4 separate regions of the Homo sapiens genome follow, and regions 2, 3 and 4 are each linked to region 1. Evidence: promoter capture Hi-C in 16 types of primary human blood cells and fetal thymus (Javierre and others, 2016). All regions are on one chromosome and are shown on one strand. Each heading gives the region's core, a stretch centred on a gene start or on the middle of the fragment in contact. The rest is flanking DNA. Distances are from core to core; before and after follow the strand shown. Region 1 holds the start of ZNF432 (zinc finger protein 432). Region 2 overlaps ZNF549 (zinc finger protein 549). Region 3 holds the start of ZNF550 (zinc finger protein 550). Region 4 holds the start of ZNF671 (zinc finger protein 671).

Region 1 (3,458 bases), core at 133-2,632:
TGTCTGCGTGATAGATGGAAGTAATAAGAGGGCACAGGGGAAAGGGGCCATACGCATAAGATGATGGAACAGAGAGCCTGGAGGGTGGGGTATAGAGAGTGTAGGGGAAGGGAGAAGGCAGACAGGTAAAAGGAAAAAGAATGTTAAGTGTTGTTCAGCCTCAAGACTGACATGATGAAAGTACCTTTATTGTGGTTTTTGTAAATTAGAATGCATGCTTTATTATTAAAAAAAACACAATTGAAAATGTTAAGGACCTTTTCCTCCTTGCTTCTTATAAGAAACCATCATAAGACATAACTTGTAATAATTCTGTAGAAATATACATATATAAAGATATATGTATATATATATTTTAAAATAGTATGTTTTTATTGCAAAATATTCATTAGTGTCATCATATCATAGCCAGATCTACAACCCCAGAGTAATTCCCATGGTTATGTTACATGGCAAAAAGGACTCTGCATTGTAATTAAGTTTATTAATCAGCTGACTTTAGCATTGGGAGATTATTCTGGATTGCCCAAGCACTTAAGAATAGGAGAAACCGGAGAGATGCAGCAGCAATAGTCAGTGGTTTCAAATATGAAAGGGATTTCACATACTATTGTTGGCTTTAAAGATAGGAAGTCGTGGGGGCAAGGAAACTCTCTAAAGGAAATTAATCTGGCAACAACCTAAATAATTCTAGAAAAGGATTCTTTTCCAGAGTCAAGAACAGAGCCAGGTGGTTCTTCTCTTCTAAAGACATTTCCATGGGCCAGTTCCACCGCAAGCTTCTCAGAGAGAATATGTTCTGCCGTACGGACACCGAACGTCCCCTAAGATGGCCGCCCCCATGATGCTCTCCCCTAAGGGCTCTGGCTCCGTTACCTGCAACGCACCGCTCGCTTATTTTTTGTTCTAGTCTCTCTTGCTTCAGTTTTTATACGGCTTCTAAAACGCTTCGCATTTACAATAGTGACTGAGGTGCCCAGAGGTGACTTTAATTTTCCATTGAGCTGAGACGTCACAGCCATCATAACCGCTAAGAAGGGATGCCGCGCCTTTGTGGTAATAATGGGTTCTGGCCTTTGAGAAGTTTGCGCCGTTCACTGTCCCCTGCGAGGAGAAGACTAACTTATTTCTGTTCCGTGTCTGTTCAGAGGACTTTACCCCCACGCCGTGTCTGCCTGTGTGAACTCAAGCCTCTGATAAGCTCTCCATTTTCTGCCAGGGCTGAGGTGTCTGGAAATCGGACAGTTTAAGAGGCCTCCGTCCACCGCGTCTCCCGGCCGCTGTGCCTTCTGTACGTCACGTACTCAAAGATGGCCGCCCCCAGAGCGGCGAGGCGACGCCGGCGCGGACGCGTCTCCTCCTGAGGAAAAGCCGGAAGGCCGCATTCCGCTCTCCATGGAAACGCGGCTGACCGTCTCTGGAGGTTTAGAGGGGGAGGGAGTTGGGCGAGGGGCCCAGAAGTGGAAGAAGTTTAGGGAAGTAAGTTCAGCTTTTAAGAGGTCGCGGCGATTCCAAGGAGAGTCAGGTCAGTGTGTGGGTCAGGGCGTGGAAACGTGGTGGGAGGGAGCTTTCTGAGGGCGTCTGCGTTGTTGGTGGCGCTATATGGTGGAGGTAGCGCGGGGGTTGGGGGAGGCGGGGGCGGGTGTTTCCTTTTGGAGGGGAGCTGGTAGGAGTCCCTGGTGGGTGTCTGTGATAGGATATCTTTGGGGTCCCTCATGGAGGCTCTGGTGGTCAGTGATTAAAGGCCTGAATAGATCAACGACCAAGAGTACTGAGGTCAGGGATTGTGGTCCTCGCGGGTCACTCCCCAGTGGGGCTCAGTGATTGAGAATCGATGGGGTGGCTTTTGTCAACGAATGTGACTTCTGTTTCACATTCTGGATTAATCTGAGGCTTAGTGATTGATGAATCATTAAGGGAATCCAGTGTACGTGTGTGTCTATTCCAGGTTTTCCTATTTTATCTGGCGGGGTGGTGGTCTTTTGTCTAGAGACAAGTGAAAGCCGAAGTCTTTTCACAAGAGCCCTGGCTGGTTTTGTGTGTGTGTGTGTGTGTGTGTGTGTGTGTGTGTGTGTGTGTGTGTGTGTGTGTTGAGCTCAAACTTTGGCTGGAACAGACTTGATGAACGTTAACATTTCCTAAAAGTTTCAGGTCCGAGTACCTCCTCCACAATGAGTTTTCTAATCCTCTGGCTTTCCACAACAACCCATGCTCTTGAACCTGCAGAAAATGAAAGTTTTTTGGGGGTGAAGGGGGGCGGATGAATAGGCTTTCTATTTAACATTATGTTTTTAAATTACTGCGCACAAATTAACAAGAGCCTATTTTTATCCTTCCTCTTGCAAATGTACTGCATATTTTTATGGGTGTTTCAGGTTTTGTATGTTAGTATATAAAGGCGGCTATTTTCCCAGTATTTATATTTTTGAATTGTTTTCTAAATTTGTATTTATAACTCGTATTCCTTTTCTCTGTCTCCCTCTTTTTTTCTATGTGTTTCTTGTTCTTCATATTGAAGTGTGTATATAAACATTTTTTTTTTTTTTTTGAGATGGAGTCTTGCTTTTGTCGCCCAGGCTTGAGTGCAATGGCTGGGCTCACTGCAAACTTCGCCTCCTGCGTTCAAGCCATTCTCCTGCCTCAGTCTCCGAGTAGCTGGGATTACAGGTGCCTGCCACCATGCCTGGCTAATTTTTTCTATTTTTAGTAGAGACAGTGTTTCACCATGTTGACAAGGCTGGTCTCGAACTCCTGACCTCAGGTGATCTGCCCATCTCGGCCTCCCAAAGTGCTGGGATTACAGGTGTAAGCCATCATGCCTGGCCGTATATAAACACTTTTAAATATATATAAAGACTTTTAAAGAGGTGTGAGAGTAACATTGTATAAAGGAAAAAATGTAGTTTCTCACCATCCATATGGCCTGATTTAAAAAACTGATATGAGAATTACCTACTGCTTAGGCATGATGCTATGTGGATTCTCCTTTGTGACCTCCCCTTTCATCTTCATGTTACTTCCACACTTCACCGAAGAAAGGCATTTGGCCTACATTGAGGGTCTTGTGTTTCCTTGGTTTGAGAGAACCAAATAAAGAGACAAATATTCAGGGCCACGTGTTAAGGTGAATGTACCCCTGAAAGTTGTTTTGCTCTTCAGTCCACAGGTCCTGGCTACCCTGGGAAGAGACAAGAAGTAAATGAAGAAAGAGGAAGATTCCAGGACCTAGATATGATTTCTGTGGACACCCTTCACTGGTGACTGAAGTTTCTAAATAGAAATTTAAGGCAGATCCAGAGGAGACAAAGACAGAGTATCCCAGGTGCTGGCCATTTCCCACAACAGAAGAAAATGATCAATGCCCAGGTGACTTTTTCTCTATTTTATTCTCTCCTTTATTCCATAGTGGATTTGTAGAGACCCGTAAGAAATCATTTCAGAATCTAGAGAGAAATAAA
Region 2 (3,561 bases), core at 589-3,088, 5.5 Mb before region 1:
CTCCTCACAAGTTAGGAAGGACAGCCTTCTCAGCAGTGGCAATAAACGGGAAGTAATAAAGATAATTCCTAACTGGCACAACAGATCTGGGTGAATCACAAAAACCACATATCTGGAAGGCAAGGTGTATGTTCTCTCAAATCCTGCTTTCCTGCCCGTGCAGCAATCATCTCAAAAACAGTACATAAGTTATGAGTCCACAAAATCTTTAGATGCCTTATGCTGACGATGTGTGTTGCTAAAGGAGAATCAAAGGTCTGAGGTCCTGAGAATTTCTATATACCCCCAAACCATGAAGCCATAGTAACACAGACATATCTGGATGCACCTTTGGATGGGACACATTCACTCTTCTTGGCCACAATCTTTTCTACTCTGTTTATCACACCTACCTGTCTGGGCCAATTACTGTTCTTACCTGGCCCCAGTAGGTCTTACAACCAGTGACCTACCTACCAATTCAGTCCTTCAGTGCCCATGGCTACAATGAAGGACCTGGGAAATAAGATACCATGAACAGTGCTGGGAAATATGAAGCATCACTGCAAATAAACAATTCATGCAGGTCCCAGCACTTGAGTTTGTCACAAATGCCTCTTCTCAGGGAGACCTCTGGACCTACAAATAAATCTGGCATCGACACCATGATTAGGACCACACAGCTCTGCTCTCCTTCCTAGGAGACCTTGGAAACCAATAAAAATTAAGACAAACAGGACTAAGAACTATTTTCCGATCTCATACTATGTCCCTGGGGGGACATAAAGTTGGAGCTGTTCACCCTTCACACTGGCAGAGCACATACATCAGCACATGGTAAGACAGCCCATTTCCCTCTTGGGTAATGTGGGAGAGGGAATATCCCACTATGGCAATCACATAAAAAAAAAAAAAACCTATGAAGAAGGTAAACCTCCATGGGCTACAAGAATCCAGATTGCTCTTCTTGGTCAAAGTTGGGTTTTGTCTTTGCCTCGAACAGTTCAGCAAGATGGAAGAGGACCCTCAACAGGCTTTTATTATATTATTCCCTTCAGAATTTGGTAAGCACAGTGGTCTGCATTCCTTGAGCACATGTGAGTGACTGATGAAAACGGTGAGGATATGCCACATGGTAGTGTCTGTTGTAACACTGGGCAGATTAGAAAGTACAAGTAATCTCTAGAAAGCTTCCCAAGTACTTGGACCTTGTAGTGAATCTTTCAACTAGTGATATGCAGATGTATGAGGGTGAATTTCTGTCTGTTGGATCCCTTGAAAAATCAGCTCTCTGGTGTCCTACAGTGAATAAGACAATTACACATCCCAACAATTGCTAGGGCTCTTCTGTTATATGTACCTTCTGGTGCCTGACAAGGGAATATCTTTTGTTGAAGGCTTTCCCACATTTACCACATTCATACGGCTTTTCTCCGGTGTGGATTCGCTGATGCTCAACAAGTTTGTTTTTATAGATAAAGGCCTTCTCACATGCAGTGCAGTTATAAGGCCTCTCTCCACTGTGAACTTTCTGGTGTTGAATGAGGCTGGTGCGGTGTCTAAAGCATTTCCCACATTCACTGCACTCACAGGGCTTTTCGCCAGTGTGAACTTTCTGGTGCTCAAGAAGTCTTTTTTGGTGGCTGAAGACTTTTCCACATTCATTGCACTCACAAAGTTGTTCTCTAGTATGGATTCTTTGGTGCTGAAGAAGTTTAACCTCAAGGTAGAAGCCTTTTCCACATTCACTGCATTCATAAGGCCTTTCTCTAGTGTGGATTTTGTGATGCTTAAGAAGTGTTTGTTTGGAGATGAAGGCTTTCCCACAGTCACTGCATTCATAAGCCCTTTCTCCAGTGTGAATTCTCTGGTGTCGCATGTAGTCAGACGAGCGGATAAATGATTTCCCACATATGATGCACACATAAGGCTTTTCTCCAGTATGAATTCTCTGGTGCTCAAGAAGTCTTTTTTTGTGAATGAAGGCCTTCCCACATTCTTTGCACTCATAAGGCCTTTCTCCCGTGTGGATTCTATGGTGATCAAGAAGTGACTGTTTGTATATGAAGGATTTCCCACATTCACTGCACTGATAAGCCCCTTCTCCAGTGTGAACTCTCTGGTGTCGAATGCGGTCATAGGAATGAATAAAAGATTTCCCACATTCCATACACACATAAGGCCTCTCTCCAGTGTGGATTCTCTGCTGATGGCCAACAAATGTTTGTTTGTGGCGGAATGATTTCCCACATACATTGCACACATAAGGCTTTTCTCCATTATGGGTTCTCTGGTGTTCCACAAGTGAGTATTTGGAGCTCAAGGATTTCCCACATTCGATGCACACATAAGACCTTTCTCTAGTGTGAATTCTCTGCTGGTGCCCAACGAGTGTTTGTTTATGGAGGAATGATTTCCCACATATATTGCACACATAAGGCTTTTCTGCATTATGGGTTCTCTGGTGTTCAACAAATAAGTATTTAGAGTTCAAGGATTTCCCATATTCCCTACGCTTATAAGCTTTTTCTCCAGTGTGGACTCTCTGATGCTCAGTAACATGAACTTTCTCATTGAAAACTTGCTCACATTTGTAACGTCTTTGTTGAAAGGTCTCCCTGCTTCTATGTGCATACTCTTGTCTGCTGTGGGTGGTCTGGTGTTGGAGAAGGCCCAGGATGGTTGGAAAATCCTTCTCAACATCTTTGCATGGGAAAAGATTGTCTGACAGAGGAATTTTGCAGCTATTCAGAAGCAAGGCACTGCTCTCCTCCTTTCTGATGTGTTTCTCTCCACTGTCCTGGTTCTGGTGCTGTTGCAGGTTAGAACCAAATGAAAACCATTTCCCACTGGCCACAGACGTATAAGGTTTCTGCCAGGGAAGTGTCCCCTGATGCTCACTGAGGTACAAAATGTCTTTCATGACCAGGATACACATCTCACAAGAATGAGCATTTGGGATGGAAGGACCTAGCTTTGGAGTCCTGGCCTGTGACACTCCTTGCGCAGAAAGAGTCTGCTCAGAAGGGGCCTCCTCAGCCTCTATTCCATGCAAACAACCTAAAAGCATAAAAATGCAAGTGAAGTATATGCAGACTTTGGTAGAAGGGAACAGCTCCATTACAAATACCTGTGGAACACAGGGAGGGACGAGTCCATGGTTTTTCTTTGAGATAGGGTCTTGCTCTGTCACCCAGATGGGAGTGCAGTTGCAGTCATATCTCACTGCAGCCTTGACCTTCCAAGCTCCAGTGACACTCCCATCTCAGCCTCCCAAGTAGCTAGGACTACAGGCATATACCACCATACCTGGCTAATTTTTTTTTAGAATTTCTTGTGGAGATACAGGTCTCATTATGTTGTCGAGGCTGGTCTCAAATTCCTTAGCTCAAGTGATCCTCCCACCTCAGCTTCCCCAAGTGCTAGGATTATAGGCACGAGCCATTGCACCCAGGCCATGGGTTTGTTTTCAGGACAAGGGAGCTGGAGTCAGGTCAAGGAAGATAATACTTGCAGTATTAGGCCTCTTAAGGTTACCATGTAGGGGAAGACCCATAACCAGCAAGAGAACAAGGAATGGGG
Region 3 (3,653 bases), core at 838-3,337, 5.5 Mb before region 1:
TACGTTTTGGATGCTACAGAGGGTCCCTGGGGCATCCAGAAAAGAGGCAAGCAGGATTATTTGACATGTTTTGTTACATGGGATTGCCAAAATGATGTCTAATCTTCTTCAGGTTATATTTCAGCAAATACTATTAATATGTGTTCCAAAACTGCATGGGATTTAGAAAACTCTAATGTGAAAGTATACACTATCAACCACAATTAAGGTTGTTATGTTGTTATTGTAAACCACGGAGATAACCAAATTTTTTTTGTCAATCATGTTTTTGACTAACCACCCTGGACATTTTGTCATTTACAGACAATTGTTGTCTTGTTTTAATCCTCTTCAAAATATGGTTCATAATCAGATGTAGGAATACTTTAACAGGTATTCCTAAATGCAGGTTTCTGATAACTGAAAAACATACAGGACTCATGAAAAGCTAAAATGTTTATAAATATCAAGCAGAACAAGAGTTAACAGAATAGGCTGAACTAATAGAAAAACTGAAATAATCTTTTTGACTTTTGCTTGGAACATTGCTGATCCTTGTTTTGTTTTTCAGAGTCAAGGAAACTTCTTTTGAGCTAGCTACAGCCTTTAACAATTGAGTAAGGTTTACTCCTGAGAACAAAATTTGGAACATGTTTGTTTCTCTCTGCCTTATTGGTTCTTTAAGGACCACTGCAACATGGTCTTGGGAATTATACTTCAAGAAGCCTATAAGGTTAAAGGGTGTTTATACTCACAGTGATATAGGAATAGCACTGGGTGGTTGCAGGAGGATGGAAAAATTCGAACAACAAATAAAAACAAGAACTAGGCAAAGAAACCATAGGATAACAGAAAACCCAAAATAAGAGAAAGAATGGCCAAAATCCCAGTCAGGATGACATGTCCATGACTCTTCTGGGCAAAGCCAAATAAGAGAGAAAGGGGGCAGTAACCAGGTGGGTCCCTGAATTTCCCTCCTTTTCCAGAATACCTAATAATTATTCCACTCTCTAATTAAAGAAACACCCACAAAATAGGAATGCTGTGTGGTCACAGGAGAAGGGGGAAAACATCAAGCTGTTAAAATTAGCTACTCCAACAAGAAGACTGGGCTGATGAGACCTTAACAAACAGGATTGGGGCTAGGCTGTCCCATGACGCTAGATTTGACCCATTTCCTACCCCAGACCTAATTATACACTCATTGCCACATTAAATCACACACCCACCAGTGCCAGGCCAATCCAAGCACGCCCACATTTAGTATAAAAATGGTTGGCACCCCAATTCTAAGAAATTCCCACCTTTTCCTAGAAAAACCTCATGATTATCCCACCCCCTAATTAGAAGAGCCCATAAAATTAGAAACCCAAACTCCATTGTGCATGACCCGCTCTCCCTCGTACGTCCGCATTTCCCTCTTCTCTTGGGAAAAGTACACTCTTCTCAAAAATGTGTACTTTTTCTTCCCAATAAAAGCTTCTTGCCTTTGGCTTCATTTTGACTCATCCCTGCATTCTTTCTCACGATGGTGTCACGAAGCTGGACTCCGGAAGCGGGCGGGGACTCACGGCCCCTGGAGACCTTCCTGAGCCCTGGGCAACACCAGTCCACACAGAGGAGGCAGACGTCCCACAGACGGAACCCCACGAGCATGTCCCGGGAATGGCTCCACGCGGGAAGCGGGGGTCCAGATCCACGCCAGTCCCAGGGACAGTGCCTGGCGTCAGGGTGGAGGAGGACGCAGTAACCAGGCGTAAGATTTTACTGGTACATGGGAATGTCACTGGGTCACTCAGAGGAGGCAAGCGGGGAACCTCGTGGCAGGGCCCCCTTTATCAAACTCGTTTACCTGGGTGCCTGGGCGAGTGCTCACAGCCTGCTTGTAGGGACGTTGAGGCATCCGAATAATAGGAAGTTTTAAAAATTTACAATCCAGTGTGTACACTTGCTCCGCTAAGATCATCTGAGATATACAGAAACATGGTGTGCATAATAAAAAAGGAAAAAGAGCCAAGCCTGGCCTCTTACGGGACAAGACTACATTACCTAGAAGGCAGTGGGCCGGCGCAGGAAAAGGCGTGGCAGGCGACCGCGACACAGGGGCGGGACTTCCGGCCTCGCTGGCGTGGACGTTTGTGGTGGGGCGTGTTGGTCCGCGCTCTCAGAACTGTGCTGGGAAGGATGGTAGGGCGACTGGGGCTCACCTCCGCACCGTTGTAGGACCCGGGGTAGGGTTTTGAGCCCGTGGGAGCTGCCCCACGCGGCCTCGTCCTGCCAACGGTCGGATGGCGGAGACGAAGGACGCAGCGCAGGTGAGCAGACTGGCTCGGCTCCCCGCGGCCACCCGGCCTCAGTGTCCCGGGCCCGACGAGCGGAAGGACGGCGTTTCAGGGTCGTCCTCAGTGCAGTCCCTGCCGTTGCTTCTTAGAGGCCTAGAAGGGGGTCGCGCGGTCCCGGGTCCGGAATGCAGGCCCGCGGTGGCGTGGGGAGCGTCCCCGTTTCTGGGGTGCGCGGCGTTGTGGTATGAAATAGGGCTTTTAGGGTCCCGGAACCCCTCACAGGTGAGAGGAGCGACCGCAGTCCTCCTCGTGGCTCTTCCAACCATGTCCTTTCTCGGGCCTGCGACCTTGAACAAGTCCCGTTACTGTCCTCGTCCTTCATTTTTGCGCGCGCAAAGTAGAAATATTTACTCTTCCCCCCCCCGGGGTTGAGGAAGCTTGAACGGCTCCCTGGGTGATGTGTGTGTGTCCGTCTCAGTGCACAGCACGGTCCGGGGACGTCGCTCAGGATGTTGTTTCCGGAGCTGCTCCCTGGGCCTGTGCTAGGTTTGGAGACTCAACCCCAGCAGGAGTCTGACCCTCTGGCCTCCTTGGCCTCCTGTCTCTACAACACGAAGGGCAGCGGCTGAAAGAGGTGGGAGGAGCGTTTCTGCGGTTGCTGCTATGCCAGGGCAGAAAAGGTGGTAGGGCAGGCTGAGGAATTTGTCTTTCAGTTTAGGGCAAGGGACGCTGGGTTGCAACTAACAGTATATTTTCCTGTTTAAGACATTTAGTTACAGGTGAAAAACGAGTCCATTAAAATGTTCAGTGGCGATGGTATGCAGGATGTAGTGTCCCTTTGGAGATAACACATGAGGCCCAGGGTTACTCTCTAGCAGTCACTCTGATTACTTTCATGATAGCCCAGATTACTGTCAGCTCCTGTCGTAGTTGTTAATTTCTCATCCACCTCTCCCTCCTTTGCTTTATTTCTGACTCCCTCTGGTGTCCGCTGCTTAAAGAGGTCTCGTCTGTTGCACCGTTTAAAGCTGACCAGAGTCTCTTTGGTCTCCTTGCTCTGTTTTCTTGTCATCTGAATCTTTAAGGCCATCTGACATTGCCTTACTCATTTATTTAGTTGCCTGTTTAGGATCTTTTTCCAACCCTGGAATGTGAGTGCCTGTTGCTTCCCTCTCCCAAGACCCAGAACAGCCAGGCTTAAGTACATTTATTGTACTTAATAAATGGTTGATGATTGAATAGGCCTCTCTTATAGGGACTCTCATCACATTTCCAATAAATCCACCCCCTCCTACCAGCATGGTCTGCAAGGCTGTACTTGGTTTGCCCTTTTGACCGCATCTTCTTTCTCCTCTTCCATTGTCCCCTTTCTCACTGCATTCATCCAGGGAA
Region 4 (3,268 bases), core at 750-3,249, 5.7 Mb before region 1:
TTGCAACCCCTGCCTTTTTTTGTTTTCCATTTGCTTGGTAGATCTTCCTCCATCCCTTTATTTTGAGCCTATGTGTGTCTCTGCATGTGAGATGGGTTTCCTGAATACAGCACACAGATGGGTCTTGACTGTTTATCCAATTTGCCAGTCTGTGCCTTTTAATTGGAGCATTGAGCCCATTTACATTTAAGGTTAGTATTGTTATGTGTGAATTTGATCCTGTCATTATGATGTTAGCTGGTTATTTTGCTCATTAGTTGATGCAGTTTCTTCCTAGCCTTGATGGTCTTTACAATTTGGCATGTTTTTGCAGTGGCTGGTACCAGTTGTTCCTTTCCATGTTTAGTGCTTCCTTCAGGAGCTCTTTTAGGGCAGGCCTGGTGGTGACAAAATCTCTCAGCATTTGCTTGTCTGTAAAGTATTTTATTTCTCCTTCACTTATGAAGCTTAGTTTGGCTGGATATGAAATTCCGGGTTGAAAATTCTTTTCTTTAAGACTGTTGCCTTCTTTAGAATATTTATTTAGGGTATTGTGACAAAGTCAAAAGGTGATGCAGGACAAAAATCATTATATGCAGGACATGTCCTGTATGTATAGGAATCTTGGAAATTTTATTAGTGATGTCTTTCATGCTACTAACACATTTGAAAAACACCTACTGAGAGCTCGTATGTGTTCCTTGGATGTGTATTTTAACAGTGAATTATCAAGACAGCACAACTTCACTGTTGATTTTTACCATTCTGATATCTTCTTTACAATTGCTCAGCATTTTCAGGAAAAAAGAGTCACATTTTGTTGACAAAGTGTGGTCAAGATCACAACACAACCATATGCTTAACTTCATTCTTTCACTTATACTTTAGTATTCAGGCTCAAACTTTACTGAGATCTTAACTTTGTCCATCTATCACAGATATTTCCTTAGAGCAATTTCTTTCATTATCTTCAAATAACTACGGAATCATTATTAATAGCTGTCAGGATTTTTCCCCCGGGGATAATCTCACCTCCTAACACAGACACCATACTTACAATGACAATGACAGGTTAAATGGTAATTGCACTGTGTTTTGCTGTGATGGAGACATCACTGATTACCCAGGCAGGAAGAGTTTTCTGAAGAAATCTGTCCACTGGTTTCAGGGAGACTCCACATCATCCCTCTTCCTTCTTCCACTCCAAGGCCTTGTTTGGAATATTTTCTCTTCCGTCTCTGACCAAACTGAAGCTCACAAAAGTTACTGTAAAGCTTGAGTGCACACATATTTAAAAAGCAACAAGGTAATAGTTATTAGCTTCTAGCTGTGAGTGTACGCAAAGAGACATTGTGGTGTGGTGTATCTATTTAGTTTTGCAGCTTTGGGGAACATCTGAAATGTCTCAACATTTCTGCGATCGGTGCATACTACACTCCAGGGAATCTAGGTCCAGGCCTTTTAAGAGGACAGAAGTCAGCCGGGCACCATGGCTCACTCCTGTAATCCCAGCACTTTGGGAGGCCGAAGCAGGCAAATCACAAAGTCAGGAGTTCGAGACCAGCCTGGCCAACATGGTGAAATCCCGTACTCTGCTAAAAGTACTAAAATTAGCCTGGCGTGGTGGCGGGCCCCTGTAGTCCCAATTACTTGGGAGGCTGAGGCAGGAGAATCGCTTGAACCCGGGAGGCGGAGGTTGCAGTCAGCCGAGATCGCGCCACTGCACTGCAGCCTGGGAGACAGAGCGAGACTCTGTCTCAAAAAAAAAAAAAAAAAAAAAAAAGAGGACGGAAGTCCTGTCAGCCCTTTGAAACTCGGGTTACTTTTCCCAAACAACTTGGCCCTCCTACTTCGAGTTTTCCCAAGAGCCCAGGCCGAGAATCCCCTGCCTTGAAGGATAGCTCAGTGGGAACCACACTCTACCCACAAACCTATACGTTGCATACCCAATGAGGGCCCAGGAGAGGGGTGTTTCAGTGCCTGCGGGGGGTGCGTGGGCGGGACTTCCGGCTCCTCCTTGTAGCGGACATTTTGTTTCTGTCAGGCTGTCCCTGGCCGGGGTTCTGTAACGCTTGTGTGGGCCGCAGGTGGAGGTGTTGGGAAAGCGCGGAGGAGATGTTGTCCCCAGTGTCCCGAGACGCGTCTGATGCTCTGCAGGGACGGAAGTGCCTGCGTCCCCGATCGAGACGCCTGCCGCTCCCGGCAGCTGTCCGCGCCCACGGTCCTATGGCGGAGCTAACGGACTCCGCGCGGGTGGGTGCTGCGTCCTCCGGGCCCTCAGTCACCCTTTCTCCGACTCCGAATCGTAAAGTGCCTGCAGCCCCTGTGTCCCAGGACAGCGACGCACTCTTGGGGCGGGGTCCTATCTCGGTGTGGGTGGGTGTGGGAGAGTTACGGGCGGAGGGGACGGCGCAGGTAAAGGCTCGGGGGTGCTGCTGACCCCCAAACATTTGGGAGACAGGGTTCTCATCAACACAGAGCAGAGTTTGAGGAACTGTGACTGGAATGGCAGGCTGAGAAGTTGTCGCTTCATTCTGAGGGCGTTGAGATTAACTGAGGGTTTTGAATAGAAGGACGTGATCTTAGCTGGGATTTTAAGTGTCTCGAAATTTGCTCAGGGGAGAACATTAGTTTGGGGTGGGGACTGCGAGGATGGATACGAGGAGACCGGTAAGGAGGCTACTGCAGTGGATTCCAGGAATGCTTTGGTGGTGGATGTACCAAGAGTAATGGCAGGTGAGTGGGTAGAAGTGATCATATTCTGGGTAGGTTTTAAATTTGAAACCAACAGGATTTTCTGCTCCATCATATGCAGCTATGACTGAAAGTAAGGCATGAAAGAGCAAGGTGTTTTTGTTGTTTTTCCATGAACGTTTGGATTTTGGAATGGTGACTTTGAGATGTCTCAGAGTGGAGGCTTCCTCACTTAGGCAACTAGAGAGGAAGGTCTGAAGTTGTGGGGAAGGGGCTGGGCTTAGAATATCTTTGGGGTGAAGGGAGCGGTCTGGAGTAGGTCAAGGCCAGGAGGTCAGATTTAAGTGGGGCAGTCTTAAGTATGTTATTTCATATCTCTGGGGTAAGAGATGAGAAGGCTGGGACTGCAGGGCAGGGAAGAGGGAGTGGGCATTCTTGAGACTCCCCCCAGAAGAGAAGGGTCCTGCCATTTGAAAGGGTTCTTTTCAGTGTTTGCAGGAGGAGAGAGCTGTAGGGTATGAGGAGTTTGGCCTGGGATGGCAACGATGGGTGGTGTGCTATTGCTACTATCTGATTATCTCACCCTCATTTTGTG

The links. The method cuts DNA at HindIII sites, captures the fragments that hold promoters and counts their contacts. A CHiCAGO score of 5 or more calls a contact.
Region 2: a contact is called between a fragment that was not itself captured here and the fragment with the promoter of ZNF432 in region 1, in 3 of 17 cell types (activated CD4 T cells, non-activated CD4 T cells and naive CD8 T cells). The highest score is 7.3, in activated CD4 T cells.
Region 3: the fragment with the promoter of ZNF550 here is called in contact with the fragment with the promoter of ZNF432 in region 1 in 2 of 17 cell types (non-activated CD4 T cells and activated CD4 T cells); the score reaches 10.0 in non-activated CD4 T cells.
Region 4: a contact is called between the fragment with the promoter of ZNF671 here and the fragment with the promoter of ZNF432 in region 1, in 1 of 17 cell types (activated CD4 T cells). The highest score is 7.3, in activated CD4 T cells.

What each region holds. Positions count from the first base shown.
Region 1 is chr19:52,046,762-52,050,219 of GRCh38, reverse strand. It overlaps ZNF432 (zinc finger protein 432), which reads left to right and starts at 1,382. Exons shown (of 5, transcript NM_014650.4): 1 at 1,382-1,525; 2 at 3,160-3,366. The coding sequence starts at 3,352. RefSeq lists an enhancer at 1,010-1,599. The HindIII fragment of the contact is 4,326 bases long and covers 782-3,458 here.
Region 2 is chr19:57,536,682-57,540,242 of GRCh38, reverse strand. It overlaps ZNF549 (zinc finger protein 549), which reads right to left. Exons shown (of 4, transcript NM_001199295.2): 4 at 1-3,039. The coding sequence ends at 1,316. Among named protein-coding and RNA genes, the nearest start is that of ZNF549, 11 kb to the right of the region's middle. The HindIII fragment of the contact is 1,333 bases long and covers 1,172-2,504 here.
Region 3 is chr19:57,558,297-57,561,949 of GRCh38, reverse strand. It overlaps ZNF550 (zinc finger protein 550), which reads left to right and starts at 2,087. Exons shown (of 4, transcript NM_001397372.1): 1 at 2,087-2,294. The coding sequence starts at 2,268. It overlaps LOC124904781 (a long non-coding RNA gene), which reads right to left and starts at 2,008. Exons shown (of 2, transcript XR_007067357.1): 1 at 1,832-2,008. RefSeq lists enhancers at 1,726-1,835, 780-1,979, 2,466-2,515, 1,957-2,821, 2,966-3,045. The HindIII fragment of the contact is 1,240 bases long and covers 1,461-2,700 here.
Region 4 is chr19:57,726,355-57,729,622 of GRCh38, reverse strand. ZNF671 (zinc finger protein 671) reads left to right here and starts at 1,999. Exons shown (of 4, transcript NM_024833.3): 1 at 1,999-2,232. The coding sequence starts at 2,095. RefSeq lists enhancers at 1,653-1,702, 1,843-2,282, 1,800-2,300 and a silencer at 1,621-1,846. The HindIII fragment of the contact is 7,103 bases long and covers 1,256-3,268 here.